Linked DNA regions of Homo sapiens: region 1 is linked to region 2. The links are contacts of gene promoters, found by promoter capture Hi-C in human tissues and cell types (Jung and others, 2019). All regions are on one chromosome and are shown on one strand. Each heading gives the region's core, a stretch centred on a gene start or on the middle of the fragment in contact. The rest is flanking DNA. Distances are from core to core; before and after follow the strand shown.

Region 1 (6,748 bases), core at 1,268-3,767, 410 kb before region 2:
CACCTCTTTAAAGACCCTGTCTCCAAATAAGTTCACATTCTGAGGTGTTAGGGGTCAGGACCTCCACATATGAATGTTGGCAGAATGCAATTTAGCCCTTAATTGTACCTTTCTTATGTCTGAGATATTTGCTGTAAACTTGCTCTGAGGTTTTTGAAGTAATCTGCTGTGTCTGTCTTCAGTGTTGGGAAAGTCCTCATCTTGACTGGGGGATGGCACTTATTCTCCCGAGCCCTCACACTCAAGCCCCCCTGTTGTTTGTCCCACAGGGGTGCTCCCCTCTGCTCTCCTGGACAGAGGATTGGAAGCTGCTGTGGTTTGTGAATACGGTCCTCCATCACCAGTCTCTCCAGGCCATCTCTGATCTTCAAAGCAATGGACAAACATTACAGTGTGATTTTGCGGTAGATAAGTCCAAAGAATCCCTGCACCGTCTGGCACGGAGGCTGAGGCTGGGGTCATTATAGTGGTGATGGGTGACTGGTGTGTTAATTGACAAGTACTATTCATCAGAGCTGCAGACTCTTACCTGGAAAGGTGCCCTCTGTGGCGGGCAGGGGGATTCCTCCTGGTGCGCCTGCAGGTCTGTTTCCAGGCACTCTAATGCCAGTGGTTCTGCTGCTTGGATCGTGCAAGTGTGAGTCCTGACCAGGGCTCGTAGGAAGTAATTATTCAACATCTGCACAGCTATCTGTCAGTCCGTGGGTCAGCTGGCCTCTGGACATTGCTGTCTGACCCCATTTTCCACTAATGAATATGTCAGTGATGTGTGGAGACATTCAAGGATCATTTTCCGATTTTGAAAGCTTTAGATGTTTAATAAGGATTTTCAGCAGTTTGAAAAGATTTAGCCAGCACAGTGGAGTCCAACAGCTCCCGTCATCTGCCTCACTGGCCCATAAGCACAGATCACAGCTTGTCAGGGTGTCTTGATGCTCCCCCAGCCACAATGAGGGTGCTTCCAAAGCAGGACCAATCAGACAACCCACAGCACCTAGCCCAGTGCTTATTTCTCTTTCCTTTCATTGCAATTTTTGTTAATACTGATTAATTCTCAAGAGAAAGTTCCTCTGGAAAGAATAGTCCCAGAAATGTCAGGCATAAAAGCTGGAATGGTTATGTTGATGGCAGGTGTCTGATGTATTAATTGTGAAGTGAAAAGTATCATAGCCGCTGACTCATCTTCTGCAGAGTCTTTGTGGTTCCTCTGTGACTGTGAAACTCTCCCATCCCGGGCAGAGAGCGAAGGACATGCTAAATGATGCGGGGCCACAGGGGAGCCCCAACCCTCCTGAAATTGAGATGGTTAGTTAGGGCATAGCCAGCATCTCCTCTCTATTCCTTAAACTGTTGATTGGATCAGGTGGTGAACTGAGCTTGCAAGAAAGCAAGAGCTTCCTTGATTGTACAACGTCACCTGGCCTCCTGGGCCCGAGTCTTCTCACCTCTCAAGCAGGGGAGCTGCCTTCGGTTATCTCTACAATCCCTTGTGGCACCCACATCCTGTGATTTTGATGTGGCCCCTGGACCCACGGACATGTCTATGTCAGCAAATTGTGTTTCTCCTGAACCGCTGGTCTGCACGCATCTGGGATGGCCATGACTGTTGGTTGAATGTGTGTCTGTTTTCTCACTGGATGTGGGAAAGCTCGGAGCTGGGAGCTCACAGCGCACGCCATGGTATGGACAAACCTCAGCCCTGGCTTTGTCTAGCTTTTCCACCTTTACTCTCCCTTTGACCCAGCTTTCTTACATTCTCTTCTTGAAATTTAAAATGGATTAATTTATGTTTTGAGTAAGTAATGCATTTATATGCTTCATACATTTAAACATTATGAAATGGTCGTGTTTGAAAAGACTCCCTCCCATTTCTGTTCCATTCTCCTGGCTCCCACTCCCAACACCCACCGGTAACCATGGTTAGAAGTTTCTAGACACTCTCCCTTCCAGGGAACCTTTAGGCATACACATGTATAGAAATACATATTGTGCACATGTATTTACAGACAGTTATGTGTTTCTCTCCCCTTCCCCCACAAGTATATCATGCCATACACATCGTTCTGCAACTTATTTTTTTCATTTATCAATAAATCTTGCATATTTTTTCAAATCAATATATAAAATTCTCCCTTTTAATTATTTTAAAGCTGCAAATATTTTATTGTATGGATGTGTCATAATTTAATTTATGGACTTATTTTTAAATTTTAATGATCTCTTCTATAGGCAGTTGAGGTCATAGTTGAAAGCCCAAGCGTGGGATTAGGTATAAGACTGGAATCCGGCTTCCTCTGCTCACTTGCTGTGTGAACACAGGCAAGTGAGTTGATCTCTTTGTGTCTCAGTTTCATCAACTATAAAATGGATCAATAAAAGTGCCTATCCAGGGGGTATTGGAGAAGTAAATCAGTTAGTAAGGGAAATGCATGGCACAGAGCCAGGCACAGGGGGTGATGTTAGTGTGCAAAGCTATTGGACATCTCTTAAGCTGCCTTAAAATAGATTTAAGTGGATTAGGAGTCAACACATCAATAAATAAAGACGTGTGACTACGGCTGCATTTTTCATCCCACATTTGCATTTTGTGGTCCTAAGTTCTTATTCATTAGGGTAAGAAGTTAAATGGCCTCAAGAGAAGATGATATGGAATGTCATGTATGCACAGCTGTGGGGCTTTGGCTGGAATCTGCTCTCCTTGAATGTCAAGTGGCTATTATGTTTAGTGGGGGAGCCCAGGGACATAGGTACTGTCCCTGGCTTGTTATACAAATCTCAGTGTATGAATAATTAGCAAAAAGAAATATAATACTTAAAGAAATCAGCCATAGTCACCAAATCTCCTTTTATAAATATTTCAGACAATACTTCCATTATTTTTACTACTATTTCTTGCAAATTCTAATCATTTCACCAAGAGCTTCTATCAGGTACTATTAAACCATCTTTTCTTTTCTTTTTTGGGGGTTTGGATAAAAATGACCAATATGCAATCATTTATTTCAGCTCTTCAAAATACGTTCTTTCTTAATTTACTTAAAATGCTAGTCTTATCCACACAGAGGCTTATCCATATAGCCTCTGACAATTTTTAAGCAGCTTTTAATGACTACTCAAATAAAACGTCACAATTTTCATAGTTTTGCCATGTGCATGAATCTCATTAGGAAGGGTACAGAAAATAATTCCCTGGATGTATAGATGCTGGAAATAGAAGTCCACAGCAAATGTCCAGCACAGATCTGAAAATCTATAGATTGAGTAGATGCTGATACATCTGTGTTCAACTTAATGATTTATTTATTTGTCAGGGTGGTGAGGGGAACCCTAGAGAAGCTGTGGAGCATTTTAGGAGAGAATTAAACAAATGAGTGAAATATAAAATGGTTTTAAGACCTCCTGCCTGGAGACAGAGGGATGGCCACGATGGTGTTTTTCCAGGCTCTCTTCCCCAGCCACACAGCTCTGAAGGTGCCAGGAAGCCCAGAACCACAACATAGGGTTTTTCTGTGTATTTCTGCCCTTCTCCTCCCACTCTCATCATTCAGTTGTTCCAACCATCAGTCTTGACACCTGCAAGAGCTCCACCCCAACAGGCACACCCATGAGGCTGAGCAGCTTTTCTCTTTTTTCACCATGTGTACTCTGACCTCTGCCTGCTCTCTCCACTCTCCTAACTGGAACCTGGGAGAAGAGAGTGAAAAAGCTCACAAGAGCCACCTTAACACTTTGCAATGGCTTTATGGTGTGGCAACTTGGCCAGACTGAACGACAGTTCCTAGACTTCCTTTTTAGCACATGTCTGATCAGGGTGGGCTACAAGAGGCATTCTCATGAGAGCTGGAGGATGGAAGGGAGGCAGTAGCCATCCTAAGCATCACACACAGCCTTCCTAGCTATCCCATCAAATGCTAGTCTAGGTGCTGCTGGAAGGAGATTTTACAAATGTGACTAGAACCCCTAATCAGTTGAGCTTAAATTAATCAAAAGCAAGGTTATTCTGAGCAGGTCTGACTTATGCAGTTGGAAGGCATTTTTTTTTAAAAACTTAGGCTTTCCTCACACTCAGAGACTTCAATAGCAGCTGTGTCTGTGACTGCTCTCCCATCACCCGGGTGGTCCTTCCAACTGCCACATGTGGACAACAAGCTTCAGCTTGCCCATGGGTTTTCAGCCTAAGTAGGCTCCTCCCTTCCTGCCTGTCTGCCCTTGCTTAGCTAGCCCCAGTAATTCCATAAGGCAATTCATTGTAGTAAATCAATATAGATGTGTGTATACATATATACCTTTCCATATATATATGTGTGTGATACATGTGTATATAATATAAAATACTATGTATGTATAGTCAGCCCTTTGTATCTGGAGGTTCTGCATTTGTGGATTCAACCAACTGCAGGCCAAAAATATTCAAAAGATTAATCAATTAAAAAATAGCAATACAATTTAAAAAATACAAATAAAAAACAATACCGTATAACAACTATTTGCATAGTATTTATACTGTATTACATATCACAAGTAATCTAGAGATGATTTAAAGGATACAGGGTGATGTGCATAAGTTGCATGTAAATACTACAGCATTTTATATCGGGGACTCGAGAACATGAGGATTTGGGTATCTGTGGGGGTCCGGGAACCAATCCCTTGCAGATAGCAAGGGACAACTGTACATATACTTATATGTATTATATATTGTATGAAAGTGACTGGTTCTGCATCTCTGGTTAAACTTTTACTAAATTTGGTATCAGGAATGGGGTGCTACTCTAACAAACAGTGGATGTTCTTCAACTTCAGATGGGGTTATGTTCCAACAAACCCATCATAAATTGAAAATGCATTTAATGCACCTAACCTACTGAACATCACAGCTTGGCCTAGCTTACCTTAAACACGCTCAGAACACTTACAGTAGCCTATGATAGGGCGGAATAATCTAACACAAAGCCGATTTTATAATCAAGTGTTGAGTATCTCATGTAATTCGTTGAATGTTGTACTGAAAATGTAGCACAGAATGATTGTATGGGCACTTGAAGTACAGTTTCTATTGAACCCATATCACTTTCGTAACATTATGAAATCCTAAGCCAAACCATTGTAAGTTGGAAACCTTCTGAACTTAAAATGTGGAAACAACTTTGGGACTTGGCAGCGAGTAGAGGCTAAGAGACTTTTGAGTAGCACAGCAGAGAAAGCCCAAATCACCATGAACAGACTGCTAGAGGAAATAGGGATGCTAAAGGTGAATCCTCCGGGGAGAACTCAGAAAGGAATGTGACAGGTGTTCCAGGAAATCGGAGCAAGGAGGATCCTTCCCATGTGTGCCAGAGAGTTTAATGAAATTGTCCATGGAGAGCAGGACTTGTAAGCGATGATGTTGGTCACATAGCTAAGGCTATTTCCAAACAAAGTGTTAAGTGTATCACCTGGTTTCTTCATGTTATTTATAGTGAAGCGGGAGAGGAAAGAGATAAATTGAGGGAAGAACATCGAACAAAAAAGAACCAGTATCTGATGATTCTGAAAATCCTTAGCCTCACCAGATGATGCTAAAAGGTGCTAAAATTAAGAGATTCTTCAGCTGATGAAGAAGCAACTCACCAGGAGCCCTACAGCTTCAAGGAAATCACTCCCACCAACAACTGTGTATGCTCAGGCGAGGGTGTGAAGCCTCAGTGGGGAGCCCAGCCCTGGCAGGCACCTTGATTACAGCCTTGAGACCCCGAGCTGAGGACCCAGTGAAGCTGGACTCTGACTCTCAACCCATAAATACCATAAGATAATAATTGCACTTTGTTTTAGTGGTAATTTATTATACAGTCATAGAAAACTAATAATACGACCTAGGACTTTACATTTCATACACGGAGCAGAAGAATAAATAAACCCAAGCTCAGGACCTCTGAGTATAATTTATTATGTGTGTGATAAAGAAGTAGTATTTTGCAGTAATTTGGGGATTACCATCTCAAATTACTCTAATGCAGAGTAATTCATTCTTTTTTGAATGTTATCATCAGAAAACCAGGGACGAACCAAGATGTTTACTATATACCTGCAGGAATAATTTTGTCAGCATACAGAATGCAATTTTACCAATAATGGAATGGTCTAGAAGCACACTGTTGGCAGGTGGGCACTCTCACACAGTAACTCAGAGAGAGATGACGGGGCTGCAGCCAGAGGCAGCACTCACCTGTGCTTCACCCACGTGTCAGACTCACTGGCTCGATCCGTGTAGTTTTCCGGCAGGAAGCCCCGGCAGCCCGTCCGCTGTGAGATCCCAATCACCCAGCCCTCGCTGGCTTCGTCCTGCTGCGTGGGGTCCACAAAGATGTAGTCACCAGGACTTAGCGTCAGCTCATCCACGTTCTGGGGTTTGTACTGGAATAGGGCTCTCAGGGTCTAGAAAAGAGGCAAAGGGGTTTCACGTCTCGAGCAAAGATTTACATTGGAAAATGGCAGCAATAGGAGGCCTATCACCTGCCACCTCCTGCTTTCTGCCCCTCCAATGTGTTCTGTGTCTCCAAGACTCCATCCAAAGCTTTGTCTGGCAATATATAGCACAGAATGTAATGAAACGCAGCATAGAATTCTTTGGATAGATTTAGAAATACATTTTGGGGCCAGGCGCGGTGGCTCACGCCTGTAATCCCAGCACTTTGGAAGGCCGAGGTGGGTGGATCACAAGGTCAGGAGTTTGAGACCAGCCTGGCCAATATGGTGAAACCCCGTCTCT
Region 2 (6,434 bases), core at 3,935-6,434:
TCAATTATGAGAACCCAGTGTGATCAACACTTAATCCCACCCAACTTCAACCATGCTGAAGAGGCACTATGGCCCGGGGCACTCCAGTTCTGAGCACGCGGAGTGATATTCACTGTGAAGGTGGTTGTTGGAAACCATTTACACAGCAACCCAAAGTGTTACTACCTTCCTCACTTTCCCCACTTCCCATTCTCTTCTCTTTTTTCTTTTTCTGTTTCACATACTTTTCAAAGGCCTTCCCATGCCGCTACACAGGAATACTGTTCTTATCTGCAGTAGGCTGACTAATGACCCTTAAAGATATCAAGTCCTGATCTCTGAAACCTCCAATGTTACCTTATATGAAAAAAGGGTCTTGCAGATGTAATTAAATGAAAAGATCTTGAGATGGGGAGATCATGCTGGATTCTCCTGGTAGGCCCTAAATGCCTTCCCAAGTGTCCCTTTATGAAAGAGGCAGAGAAGGCCAGGTGTGGTGGTGCACACCCATAGGCCTAGCTACTTGGGAGGCTGAGGCTGGAGGATCACTTGAGCCCAGAAGTTCAAGGTTACATGAACTATAAGTGCACCACTATACTCCAGCCTAGGCAACAGAGCAAGACCAGGTGTCTAAAACAAAAACAAAACAAAACAAAACAAAACAAAGAAAGAAACAGGTAGAGGGAGATTTGACAGACAGAAAAGAGGTCATGTGAACACAGAAGCAGAGATCAGAGTGATGCAGCCACAAGCCCAGGAATGCTGGCAGCCACCAGAGGCTGAAAGCAAGGCACTTTCTCTATATCCTCCAAGGGAAGTGTGGCCTTGCTCACACCTGAATTTCCATCCCATAAGACCAATTTCGGACTTCTGGCCTCCAGAACTGTAAAAGAGTAAGTTTCTATTGTTTTAACCCACCAAGTTTGTAGAAAGCTATTACAGCAGCCACAGGAAACTAATGAATTTTTTAAAGAGATAACCACCCAACCCATAGATTGGGCAAATCTGGACAGCCAGGTACCCATTCCAATGAAATGATGGTTAAGAGAATCACAGCTGATTAAAACTTCCCGCTTCCAAATATGAAGAAGCAGATATGTTAAACCCCATAGAGACTTCCCTCCCCCAAATTATAAAAGGGCTGTGTTTTTTTTTGTTATAAGAAATGCAAACCAACTTAACAGCATGAACACTGGAGAATCGGCTACCACTGTAACAGTTTCAGAGAGAAAACTCTAGCCATCGGGAACAGATGGCCCAGGACACAGCCCTAGCAACAGGTCCAAAGCTCCGGGCATACACAAGTTAACAGACATGGTCTCTGTGCCAAGGGGCATGCAAACTAGTGGAGAAACCGGCCTTTGAGCAGATGGGAATAGGTGAAATAGATGGTATAGTGGAATCACTGAAGCGCAGAGGGAGGCAGCCTCGGTCTGACACTTGAAATTGGATTTGCCTGCAGATTGAATAGGAAAAGGCCATCCCAGGAAGTGCCTATGCCAGACTACATGGCTAGAGGGGTTGGCAAAGGCGAGGCAAGCAGAAAGCAAAGCCACCTTGGCAGCACTGGACAGGCCATGCCCAGCTATGAGGCCGCAGGCATCTGCAAGCCACATGGGAGGGTGGGTGGGTATACAGCACCAATGCAAGTTAACCCGAGTTGCATTTGGAAAGATAAATTTGATTGAAAACGCACTAGGCTGGGAAGGGAAGGAAGCAAAACTGAGGCAGGAACTTGGTTGCAATGGCTACAGATTGGACAGAGCTGCTGCAGGCCAGAAACAGCTGAAATAAGGCTGGTAAGGACAGGTTTAAGTGGCATTTAAGAGGTAGATTGATAGGACTTAGTGACAGTTGAATGCAGACATTGAGAAATAACCGTCAAGTTTCTGGCTTGGGTAGCAAGGCAGACAGCAGCATCTTTAATTAAGTAGGACACAGTCAAGGATGGAAAAAATGGTTCAAGGGCAGATAGAATGTCGATAGGAAGTCCAGCTGTGAGCTTGCTGTGTGCACAGCTGTGGGTTGTCCGCAGGGTGTCTAATGAGGTGGCTGCATAAACAATGTGCATTTTGTATAAAAGAACATATGTGTCTATGGTGTGAGAGATCCTGTTTGGGGTGCTTCAGTGTACGGCTAACACTAAGAAGTAGAGGGAGATTTGACAGACAGAAGAAGGCCATGTGAACACACAGGCAGAGATTGGAGTGATACAGCCACAAGCTCAGAAATGCTGGCAGCCACCAGAAGCTGAAAGAGGTAAGGAATTTAGACTGAAAGTCAGGCATTGGGCAGGCAGAGGCAAACAAGAAACCTGCAGGGCGGATGAGAGGGTGCTGGCTGGCAAATCCAACATCACCTACACAAGTGGTGTCAACAAAACCTGCACCAGGTGTTATGGGAGCACAGAGGAGGGAGCACCAACCCTAGATACAGCTGAGAAGATGCCAGTCAGGTGGGGTGGGGAGGTGGTGGAATCCTGGAGGAAGAAACACCAATCAAGATGAAATTATCCCATTAAAACAGGGTGGTAGTGGTGGGGGCAATAGCTCAGGCAGAAGGGACAACACACTTGAAGCCCAGAAGCCCAGAGGCAAGAGACAGAGCAAGACTAGTTTAGAGGCCTGCATGTCAGAGTGGAGGTGGGGGAAAGATGGGAGAGGCTGGGCCAAGTCCTCAGGCACTTGTGCGTTGTGGTTTGAACTCTCACCTAGGCAATGGAGAGCCATTAAACCCTATGCAAGGGAGTGGCATGATCCCTTTTGCTGTTTAGAAAAATCGCTTTGGCTGTAATGTGAGAGTGGATTAAAGGAGGAAACCTGGAGGCTGGGAGAGCAGTTAAGCGGTTACGTTACCAGAGAAACACTGAGGAGGTCGGACGGACAGGACTTGGGGATAGACCCAATACTGGAAGTGAGGGAGGAGCCCACCATGGTGCCCACATTCCTGGCTCCAGCAACTGGGCATATGTTCCAAGCATGGATGAGACTGCATAGGGTGTGTGTGCCAAGAAACCCAGTGCGAGCATGGGCAGGGGCAGAAGGGCCAACACAGCCGGCCCAGGAGGAGCAGTCAGCCAAGAGGTGGGAAATCCAGGGAATGAGGCGTAACTGAAGCAATCACTGCTGAAGCAATTGGAAGCGTGTCACAAATCAAAGAGAGCAACTGAAAGATGCAACGGTTTCTGCCAGATTTGGCAGTCAGGTCAATTCCAGTGAAATGGTGAGGCCAAAAGCCTGATCATATAGCTCAAAGCAGAGACACCAATGTGTATCGTCCTGAGGAAGGTTGAAAAAACAAAAAACAAAACAAAACAAAAAAACAGCTAAGCAGGTGGCTAGAAAGGGATCGCTCAAGGGAGGCTGCTTCCAGCATGCGGTAAAGCCAGTACTAGTTTTCTCACCTATAAAACTAGGATAACAGCACACACTCCCCCAGCCTAATCACAGGGGAACCTAAAACTCAAGGTTCTTTTAAGACTTATAATCACTGTTGCCTTCTACCTTCAGAACAGTCACTTTGTGCTTTTCCACCATACAGTTCAAAATACAGACACTCTTTAGGCTGGGCATGGTGGCTCACACCTGTTATCCAAGCACATTGGGAGGCTGAGGCGGGTGGATTGCTTCAGACCAGGAGTTTGAAACCAGCCTGAGCAACATGGTGAAACTCCATCTCTACCAAAAATACAAAAATCAGCTAGGTGTGACGGATGCACCTATAGTCCCAGCTACTGCCGAGGCTGAGACGGGAGGATGGCTTGAGCCAGGGAGTGGAGGCTGCAGTGAGCTGAGATCATGCCACTGCACTCCAGCCTGGGACTGACAGAGACTCCATCTCAGGAAAAAAAAAAAAAAATTTAAAGTGTTTTAAAGTTGTAGGAGAAAATTTTTAGGTGCAAGATTCTTTATGTAAGACTAAGAGTCCTCTTAAAATTAGTCAAACTAATAATCTACAACAGAGCTGTTAATTTGGCAACAAATTTTTAATTTGTATCAATCTAATGTCTGTCTTTCACATACTTCCAAACATTACATAAATTATTTTACCTAGTGCATACAACTTTCAAAAACTGTATTTGGCAATTAACAGACCCCTGACAATTATTAACAGGGGTTTTACATCCCGGAGTTTGAGTGTCTGCGGGAGAACCGTCCCTGCAGGAGGCACTCCCCCTCCACCTGCGACCCGGGCTGGGAGAACGCGCGGAGGGCTCCCTTGAGCGGTCTCCGCCAGCGAGGCTTTCCTCCCGGTCGGTGTTGACAGTGTGGCATTTCTGTTATCTAATTTCTGGTTTTGACTGAAAGCGAAGTGAGTTTTCTCATCAGTGGAGTTGTAATATTTCTGCAAAAAAAAAAAAGATCACAGCCCTCCGATGAGCCGGGCACTATGCGAAGTCTCCGGCTGCCTGCGGGCCGCTGTGGACGCCCCGGCGGGGGTCAGGACCGACCCCCATCTGCGCGGCGAACGAGCCCGGACGCCCTGGCCGCGGCCGCCGGGTCCCCGCCCAGGGGCCAGGTGGCCAGGTTGCGTCGGGAGGAGGAAATGGAAGCGCTCTGAGCGACTAGCGAGCGGCAGGAGCCGCCTCCCGCGGGCTTTCCTCGCGGGCCGGGAGCGTCTGCCGCCGACCCGAGGACCGCAGGGCCCCGCTCGCCGCCCGCGCCCGTCAGAAAGCCGCGCGTCGCTCCCGTCGCTGTCGGGGTCGTCGGCTCGGGGAGTCGCCCGCCGTCCACCGGTGAACGGGAGCGCGTCCTCCCCTCCGAGGGACTAAGCGCTCGCGCCACGCATCCCGCCGCGCCGGAAGCGGGGACTACTGGCGGCCCAGCTGGGCAGGACCGCGGCCGAATGACCCGGGGCGACCCCGCAGCAAGGGCGCCTCCGGCAGGCGGCAAAGTCCCCTGAGAATCGGCGCGCTCCTCGCCGCGACGGACTCCACCCGGCCGGGGCGCTCAGCCTCCTCGCCGTGGCCCCCAGCCCGGCCGCCTCCCCTAACGGCCGCCGCAGGCTCCCCTCATGGACCGAGAGCGCGGGCTTGCAGCGCGGCAGCGTCCGTTCGGCGCGCGGCTCCGGGCAGGCCCGCCCTCCCCCGTCCCCCTGCGCCGCGAGGCCCCCCCCCCGCCCCGCCCTCCGGCGCCCGGCGCCCAATCAGAGTGCCGCGCACGTGACGAGCGATGCCTGCGATGACCTCATCCCTGGTGTGGGATGACGTCAAATTCAAGATGGATGGAATCACAGCGGCAGCGGCGGCTGCGGCGCGCGCGAGCCGAGTGTGAGCGGAAAGGGGCCCGGCGTCTGCCTCGAGACTGAAGACCGGTGAGTAACTGTCACGCCCCTAGCTCTAGGAGAACTGCGGGGCTCCTTGGGAGGCTACAGCCTCCCCGCAAAACGCGGCCTTTCCTGACGTAACTCTGAGGTGATTTCTCTCCTCTTTTTTCTCCACCAGCGGGTTGCGGGCTCCGAGCGCTTCTGCGCGTGCGCGGGACCTGGGCGCTCACCGAGCATGTCCCGGGTTCCCACGTAGCCGATTGTACCTTCACACTGCGCACGCTCCCTGCCAGCACTTGGCCTCGCCCTCGCGAATGCGCATGCTCCATTCCCTCACGGGCTTCACTCTTCACCCTGGCCGAGCTGCCCCTGGGGTAGGGGACACGCCTGGCCCAGGCGCGCGCCCCTCGCGCGGAGCGGTTGAAACGCCTCGTGGAGAAGGGCGCGTTCTCCTGTTCCGGGCAGGGGTTGGGGGCCGGCGGCCCGGGCCGCGGGGTGTGCGCGGAAGCTGGCCGGCGGCCTTGGGGACCCCGCACCTGCCGCGACCCGCCGCTCCCTTCACGGTCCGGGACCTAGCCCCGCCGCCCCGTCCTCGGCCCGGTGGCCGGAGCGTGACCGCTCGGTGCCCGCTGGACGCTCCCTCCCCGCCCCCGGCCCCTCCCGCGGACGCCTGGACCTCACAGCGCGTTTTTTTTCCTCCAGAGCCCCCGCAGACCTTGTCTGGGACTTCCCGGCGGTCCCGCAGAGCATAGCACCCTCCGCCGGCCAGGAGCCCTGCTGCTCGGCCGGCGACCGTCTCCCCGCTTGGAGGAGCCCCCTTCCCCCCGTCCGAGGTCCGCGGCTGGAGGGGCAGGGAGTCAAGACGCCACCCGTGCCGGCCTTAGAGACGCCCGCGGCAGCCCCGCCACATCTCTTCCCGGCTTTTCGGGAACACGCCCCGTAGTCCATCCTCAGCGGCTCCTGCTTTTCCATCCCAGCACACCGCTGGGGGCTCGCACTCTGCCCCCGGTTGCTATGCGGTCCCAGCCACGAGGGCTCTGCGGTTCGGGAGAATTCCGCAAGAGCGCGCGTTCGGAGGCGGGGTGTTTTTAGACAGGTGCCCCGGTGGGATTGCCTGACCGAGAGGACGGGGAAAGTTAGACTTCACACGGCCTGGGGTTTTTCCTTTCGTGCAAGCGCTCACAGCCCTG

Evidence for each region. Contacts are between HindIII fragments. The study calls those that stand out against the background at their distance.
Region 1: a contact is called between a fragment that was not itself captured here and the fragment with the promoter of ZBTB21 in region 2, in 1 of the 25 tissues and cell types used here (thymus).

What each region holds. Positions count from the first base shown.
Region 1 is chr21:42,418,067-42,424,814 of GRCh38, reverse strand. It overlaps UBASH3A (ubiquitin associated and SH3 domain containing A), which reads right to left. Exons shown (of 15, transcript NM_018961.4): 7 at 6,206-6,414. Among named protein-coding and RNA genes, the nearest start is that of UBASH3A, 18 kb to the right of the region's middle. RefSeq lists an enhancer at 1,369-1,638. The HindIII fragment of the contact is 5,669 bases long and covers 1-5,351 here.
Region 2 is chr21:42,009,110-42,015,543 of GRCh38, reverse strand. It overlaps ZBTB21 (zinc finger and BTB domain containing 21), which reads left to right and starts at 5,184. Exons shown (of 3, transcript NM_001098402.2): 1 at 5,184-5,292. It overlaps ZNF295-AS1 (ZNF295 antisense RNA 1), which reads right to left and starts at 6,350. Exons shown (of 2, transcript NR_119384.1): 1 at 5,960-6,350. RefSeq lists silencers at 4,372-5,111, 5,552-5,861, 5,902-6,011. The HindIII fragment of the contact is 7,901 bases long and covers 1-6,434 here.